Linked DNA regions of Homo sapiens: region 1 is linked to region 2. Evidence: promoter capture Hi-C in 16 types of primary human blood cells and fetal thymus (Javierre and others, 2016). All regions are on one chromosome and are shown on one strand. The core of a region is centred on a gene start or on the middle of the fragment in contact, and the rest is flanking DNA. Distances in the headings are between cores, read along the strand shown.

Region 1 (2,700 bases), core at 135-2,634, 500 kb after region 2:
CTTTTAAGTTTTTGGGAACTCAGAATGCATTTTCCCATGGAAGAAAATGATATACATGTTTAGTAGTCAGGGTTCTCCAGAGTAATGGAACCAAGACAACTGGTTTTCCTGGGTCTCCAGCTTGCAGTTGGCTAACCATGGGACTTGGAGAGAGAGAAAGAGAGATTGACAGAGAGAAATTGGTTCATGTGATTATGGAGGCTGAGAAGTCCTATGATCTGCCATCTGCAAGCTGGAGACCCAGGAAAACCAGTGGTATAGTTCAATCCTAGTCCAAAGGCCTGAGAAGGCAAGGGTGGTTGATGGTGTAATTCTAAGTTTGGGTGCAGAAGACTGATGTCCCTCCTCAAGCAGTCAGTCATAGATTGCAAATTCACCCTTATTCCACCTTCTTGTTCTGTTCATGTCCTCAAGAATTGGATGATGCTTATTCACATGGGGAAGGGCAATCAGCTTCACTCTGTCTACTGATTGAAATGCTAATCTAATCTGGAAACACCCTCATGGACACATCCAGTAGTGTGTCTAACCAAATATCTGGAGACCTATTGATCCAGTTAAGCTGACACATGAAATTAATCATTACAACATTAAATTCTCAAGCCAAACTGTGAAAATCTATTTAACTCATGTAAAACTGAGCCTTAGAAACACAGTCCTGATTTAAGTGCTGGGTGCTAGAAGGTCCTGTTGTTTATGGGCTGAGACATAGGAAGAAAAAAGGAAGAGAGTTACCTTCCACCTTCTTGGGTAGAGCCAGTTCATCAGCAAAATATTCAAATAGGTAAGTTTGCTTTTGGTAGCCCATTGCTTTATAGAGCCCTTCTCCCCAGACCCTTGAATGCCAATACCCTCAGGCTCATCCCAGGAGATCACATTTGTATTAGTTTCTATTGTTGCATGGCAAAAGAATACAAACTGAATGGCTTAAAATAACAGCCATTTATTAGCTCACAGCTGCTATGGATCAGGAATCTGGCATAGCTTAGCTGGATCCTCTGTGGAGGTCTCAAGGCTGAAACGAAGATGTCAGCCAGGGTTGCAGTTCTGATCTGGGTCTCAGGGTCTTCTTCCAAGCTCATTCGGGTTGTTGGCAGAATTCAATGCCTTTCATATGTAGGTCTGAGGTTTCCATTTTCTTGCAAGCTGTCAATTAGTGGCCATTTTCATCTCCAAGAGGCTACCCATATTCCTTTCCACCTATCCCTCTCCATTTTCAAACCAGCAACAGAGAATTTCTCAAGCATCAAATCCCACTAATACTTCAAGTCTCTGACTTCTTCATCTGTGACTAGTTGGAGAAAACTTTCTACTTTTAAAGAGTTTGTGTGGTTAGATCAGACCCACCCAGATGGATACTCTTCCAATTATATAGTCAAGTGATTTAGCATCTTAATTTCATCTGGAAAAATCCATTCACAGCAGTACCTATACTACCATTTGATTGAATAACTGGAACTAAGGGAGGAGACCACCCCTCATATTGTCTTATGCCCAATTTCTGCCTCCAAAAAAAGAAAAAGTAAAAAGTAAAAGGCAGAAATGAAATCCACAAGTAGACAGCCCAGTGCCACACCCTGGGCCTGGTAGTTAAAGATGGACCCCTGACCTAATCGGTTATGTTATCTATAGATTACAGACATTGTATAGAAAAGCACTGTGAAAATCCCTATCCTGTTTTGTTCTGATCTAATTACCGGTGCATGCAGCCCCCAGGCACGTACCCGCTGCTTGCTCAATCGATTACGACCCTCTCACGCGCACCCCCTTAGAGTTGTGAGCCCTTAAAAGGGACAGGAATTGCTCACTCAGGGAGCTCAGCTCTTGAGACAGGAGTCTTGCCGATGCCTCCGGCCGAATAAACCTCTTCCTTCTTTAACTCGGTGTCTGAGGAGTTTTGTCTGCGGCTCGTCCTGCTACAGAACAAGGTGTGTATGCGAAAGGGACTCAATAATCTTGTGGGGCCATCTTAGAATTCTGCCTACTTACACCATTGAAGTCTGCTAAGCCCCACAGAGTGGAGTACCCTTTCTATCACAACTGAAACTCTCAGTTTCTCAGCTATCCTAATATTCACTGTGTCATCAGGAAAAGTAAGCTGATTAATTGCCTTTAAGCAATGAGCACTCATTTGGCAAAGCAACACCAATAAGCAAGGGTCTGGTAACTGCCCTAGTCCTCCTAGATGTTGTTTGTATACATTAAAATAAAGTGCTTATTTATCTCAATGTGTTTCCATATAGTATATCTTCAGGCAGAATTAAAAAGTTTTGAAAATAATTCAAGCTATGTGAGAAAAGATATTTTGGGGCAGAAAGCCATCATATAGTCAGGCAAGACCTATTTGGGAACATACACCTACCCTCTTCCTGTCTCCTAAACTGTTCTGGTCATCATAGCTTTGTCCCTTTCTCCCACAGATTTTCTACAAAATCGTTTTTTTTGTTTTTTTTTCCTGAATAGCTCAACTGCCAGTGTTACTGGGGGGCCTTTGAGAAGGGAGAGGAAAGTAAGAGAGAGGAAAGCAAGAGATGGCAGTTAATTTTATGGAAGTATCATTTTTGAATCAAGCATTTGTAAGTTAGAGATTGTCCAAAATATTATTTCAGAGGCTGTAGGAAGTCTCCTTGCCCTGTAAGTGACTTCACATAACAGTTCACAAATGTCTCAGGGAAACAAGACATAAAACCTCTCTTATCT
Region 2 (2,700 bases), core at 175-2,674:
ACCGGTAGCAGAGAGGCGCGGGTTGCCGGGGAAGGCAGGGCTGAAGTTGGGGGCGGTGCGGAGTGAGCAGCAGGGCCCAGCCTGCCTGCGGCCTCACGCCTCTCTGGCAGGAGACTGCGGAGACCGCCTCCCCGCCCGCTCTGGGGCTCGGCTCATAGGGCACGGAGATCCATTCACTCCCGCGGGGCGGCAGAGGACTGCCGGGCCCAGCTGGGCCGTAACGGCGGCGGCCAGAGACGCACTCACACCCCGACTCGAACTCCCTCCCTCCCTTTCTCTCTTGCAGACACGCACGCCTGCCATGTGTTTGACTCTTCGCTCATAGTCATCAGGATTCCTAAAGTGTTTTTAACAGAAAACACCTCCGTTTCCCCAAAGGAACCGGGGGGCTGCTGCGGAGATCAGCGGTACAGTGCTTCTCTCAGAGCCCGCCCCGCCTCTCAATTCTCTCCTCTCCTCATGACTTCTCCCCACCTCCAAAAAAAAAAAAAGTCCTGCAAATATTTTCCCCCAGCACACAGGGGCAAAGGTACCTTAAACCTGAAAGGTGCATTTAGATTTGTCCCAGGGCAAAAAAAAGTCCATTGCTTGCCAAGGATCAATGAATGTCCCAGTTCGTACCCCCGGGACGCCTTGCACCTAGTCTCCCCAGTCCAAGCTGCCCAAAGCCCCGCAACCCGCACCCTAGGAGAGCCATGGAAAGGGGCAAGGGGCAAGGGGTAAGGGGTAAGGGGAGGAGTCGGAGAGGCGCGTTGGAGGGGCGCCTCGGACCGGGAGGTATGGGGTCGGTGGCAGCGGGAGCGGCCAACCTTGCCCAAAATGCCAAGTGGGGCGTGCGGGGCCACTCACCTGCTTGGAACTCCACTTGGCGATTTTTTTCCTTTTCCTCCTCTAGCAGCATGGAGTAGAGGATCCCGACAGAGTTATGGATGCCGAAGATGGAGCCGTTGCACCAGGTGGCAGCGAACACCACCACCCAGCCGAAGCCACCTTCGGGAGGCTGGAAGCCGCGCGCGGTGCCGCGGGTCTCTACCGTAGGCGTGGGCTCGGGTTCGTGCACCCGCTCGGACTCGAACTCCAGCTCCGGCAGGGGTGCGGGGTCCGGTAGGGGCTGGGGCTCCGGCTGGGGCTCGGGCGGGGGCACTGGCACGGGCTCGGGCTCGGGCTCAGGCTCCGGCTCAGACTCCGGCTCTGGGCTACCCACCGGCTCCTGCTGTTCCTGGTCTGCCTCCTGCCAGGGCCCCTTTGCTTCCTCGCTCGCCTGGCTTTGCAGCGCCATCGCGGCGGGGGGACTGTGGCTGCTTGGGCCAGAGGAGCCGCTTTGTGGCTGGTACTTGTTTCTGCTGCTGCAGCTGCTGCTGCTCGGAGGGCTGCTGCTGCCGCTGCCGCTGCCTCCTCCTCCAGGCTCCGCGCCCCAGCTGGCCAGCCCGTCCCGCGACAGACGGTCCCTCGAGCCCTCTCCTCCTCCTCCCACGTCCAACCCCCCTCCTCCTCTCCCCATGTCATCTCTCTCTCCTCCCCCTCCTCCACACCCCCCACCTCTTCCTCCCTCAACAGGCAGCCGCTACAGCCTCGCTCTTCTCCCCAGCCCTTCCTCCTCCTTTTACTCGCCTACCTACTCCAGCCGCCACTGCCTCCCCCAGCTCCCTTCCCAAACTACTGAACCCTGTTCTTGCCCGGATGCCCGTTAGAGGAAAAGTTAAAATGGAAAAAAGGAAGCACAAACTATCCTGTTCTCCTGCCCTCTTTTCCCCGCAGGCTCTAGAACCGACACTGATCAACCCCGAGCCTCGGGAAGACCCCTCCTATTTTTTGCTCCCATACCCTCCTTCCTCACAAGCAGCCCGCAACTGAGGTGGCACCGGGGACCCTAGGACGACAGCTGGCCCGCGAGGAACCCCACCCTGCCCTCAGGAGCTCCCATGTCCCTCCTTGGACTTGAGGAGGACGACCTGAGGGGACAGCCTGGGCCTCGGACAGCGGGTGGACACAATCTTCTCGAGCCCGAGGACTCGGCCCCCCGCGGTCCTGCGCACCCCCGGGAGTCTCCCCCTGCCCCCGCTCTTCCCGGCAAATCCCTGGCGGCCTGGGAGGGGAGGAGGCGGCCATGCAGCGAGGCCCGCCCCTCCGGGCAGTCAATCAGGGCTTTGTTTGCGCCAACCTGGAGCCCGGAGGAGCCTCAGAGGGCCGGGTCTGGGCCGGGCCAGGGCCGGGCCGGGTCTGGGCCGGGCCAGGGCCGGGCCAGGGCCGAGTGTGGGCCAGGAGCCGGGCCAGGAAGGGAGGGAGGTGGCACCAGTGGGGGCCGGGCCCAGGCCCAGTCGGGAGCCGAAGCTCAGTTCAAGCTCCTCCCGACAATCTGTCCCGGACTTAGGAGGAACGAGTTGGAGTCGGGTCCAGCCGCCAGTTTGGGATTGGGCTGCCCCGCCCCCGATATCTCGGCTGGGCTGGTCCCTCAGGCCTCGGCCGCGGCTTTTCAGGTGCTGGAGACTCAGCGGAGCTGCAAGCGGACGGATGTCTTCCCAGCACCCACCGCCCCCTTCCGCCCACCTCAGGCATGCAGACATGGGAGTCCCACTGTATGTCGCAGACTGAGGCCCCAGCCCCACTGAGGGTAAGGGAGAGTTTGTTCCCCAGGAAGCGCGCCGGGTCAGGGAGAAGGAAAGGTGGGGGATCTGTCTTTCTGGTGGCCGGGCACTCAGC

Evidence for each region. Contacts are between HindIII fragments. The CHiCAGO score rates a contact against its expected background, and 5 or more counts as called.
Region 1: a fragment that was not itself captured here is called in contact with the fragment with the promoter of SLC16A2 in region 2 in 1 of 17 cell types (monocytes); the score reaches 5.1 in monocytes.

What each region holds. Positions count from the first base shown.
Region 1 is chrX:73,917,545-73,920,244 of GRCh38, reverse strand. No RefSeq gene overlaps it. Among named protein-coding and RNA genes, the nearest start is that of JPX, 25 kb to the left of the region's middle. The HindIII fragment of the contact is 2,892 bases long and covers 1-2,700 here.
Region 2 is chrX:74,420,217-74,422,916 of GRCh38, reverse strand. SLC16A2 (solute carrier family 16 member 2) reads right to left here and starts at 1,424. Exons shown (of 6, transcript NM_006517.5): 1 at 850-1,424. The coding sequence starts at 1,279. LOC105373252 (a long non-coding RNA gene) reads left to right here and starts at 2,269. Exons shown (of 2, transcript XR_007068267.1): 1 at 2,269-2,611. The HindIII fragment of the contact is 8,329 bases long and covers 1-2,700 here.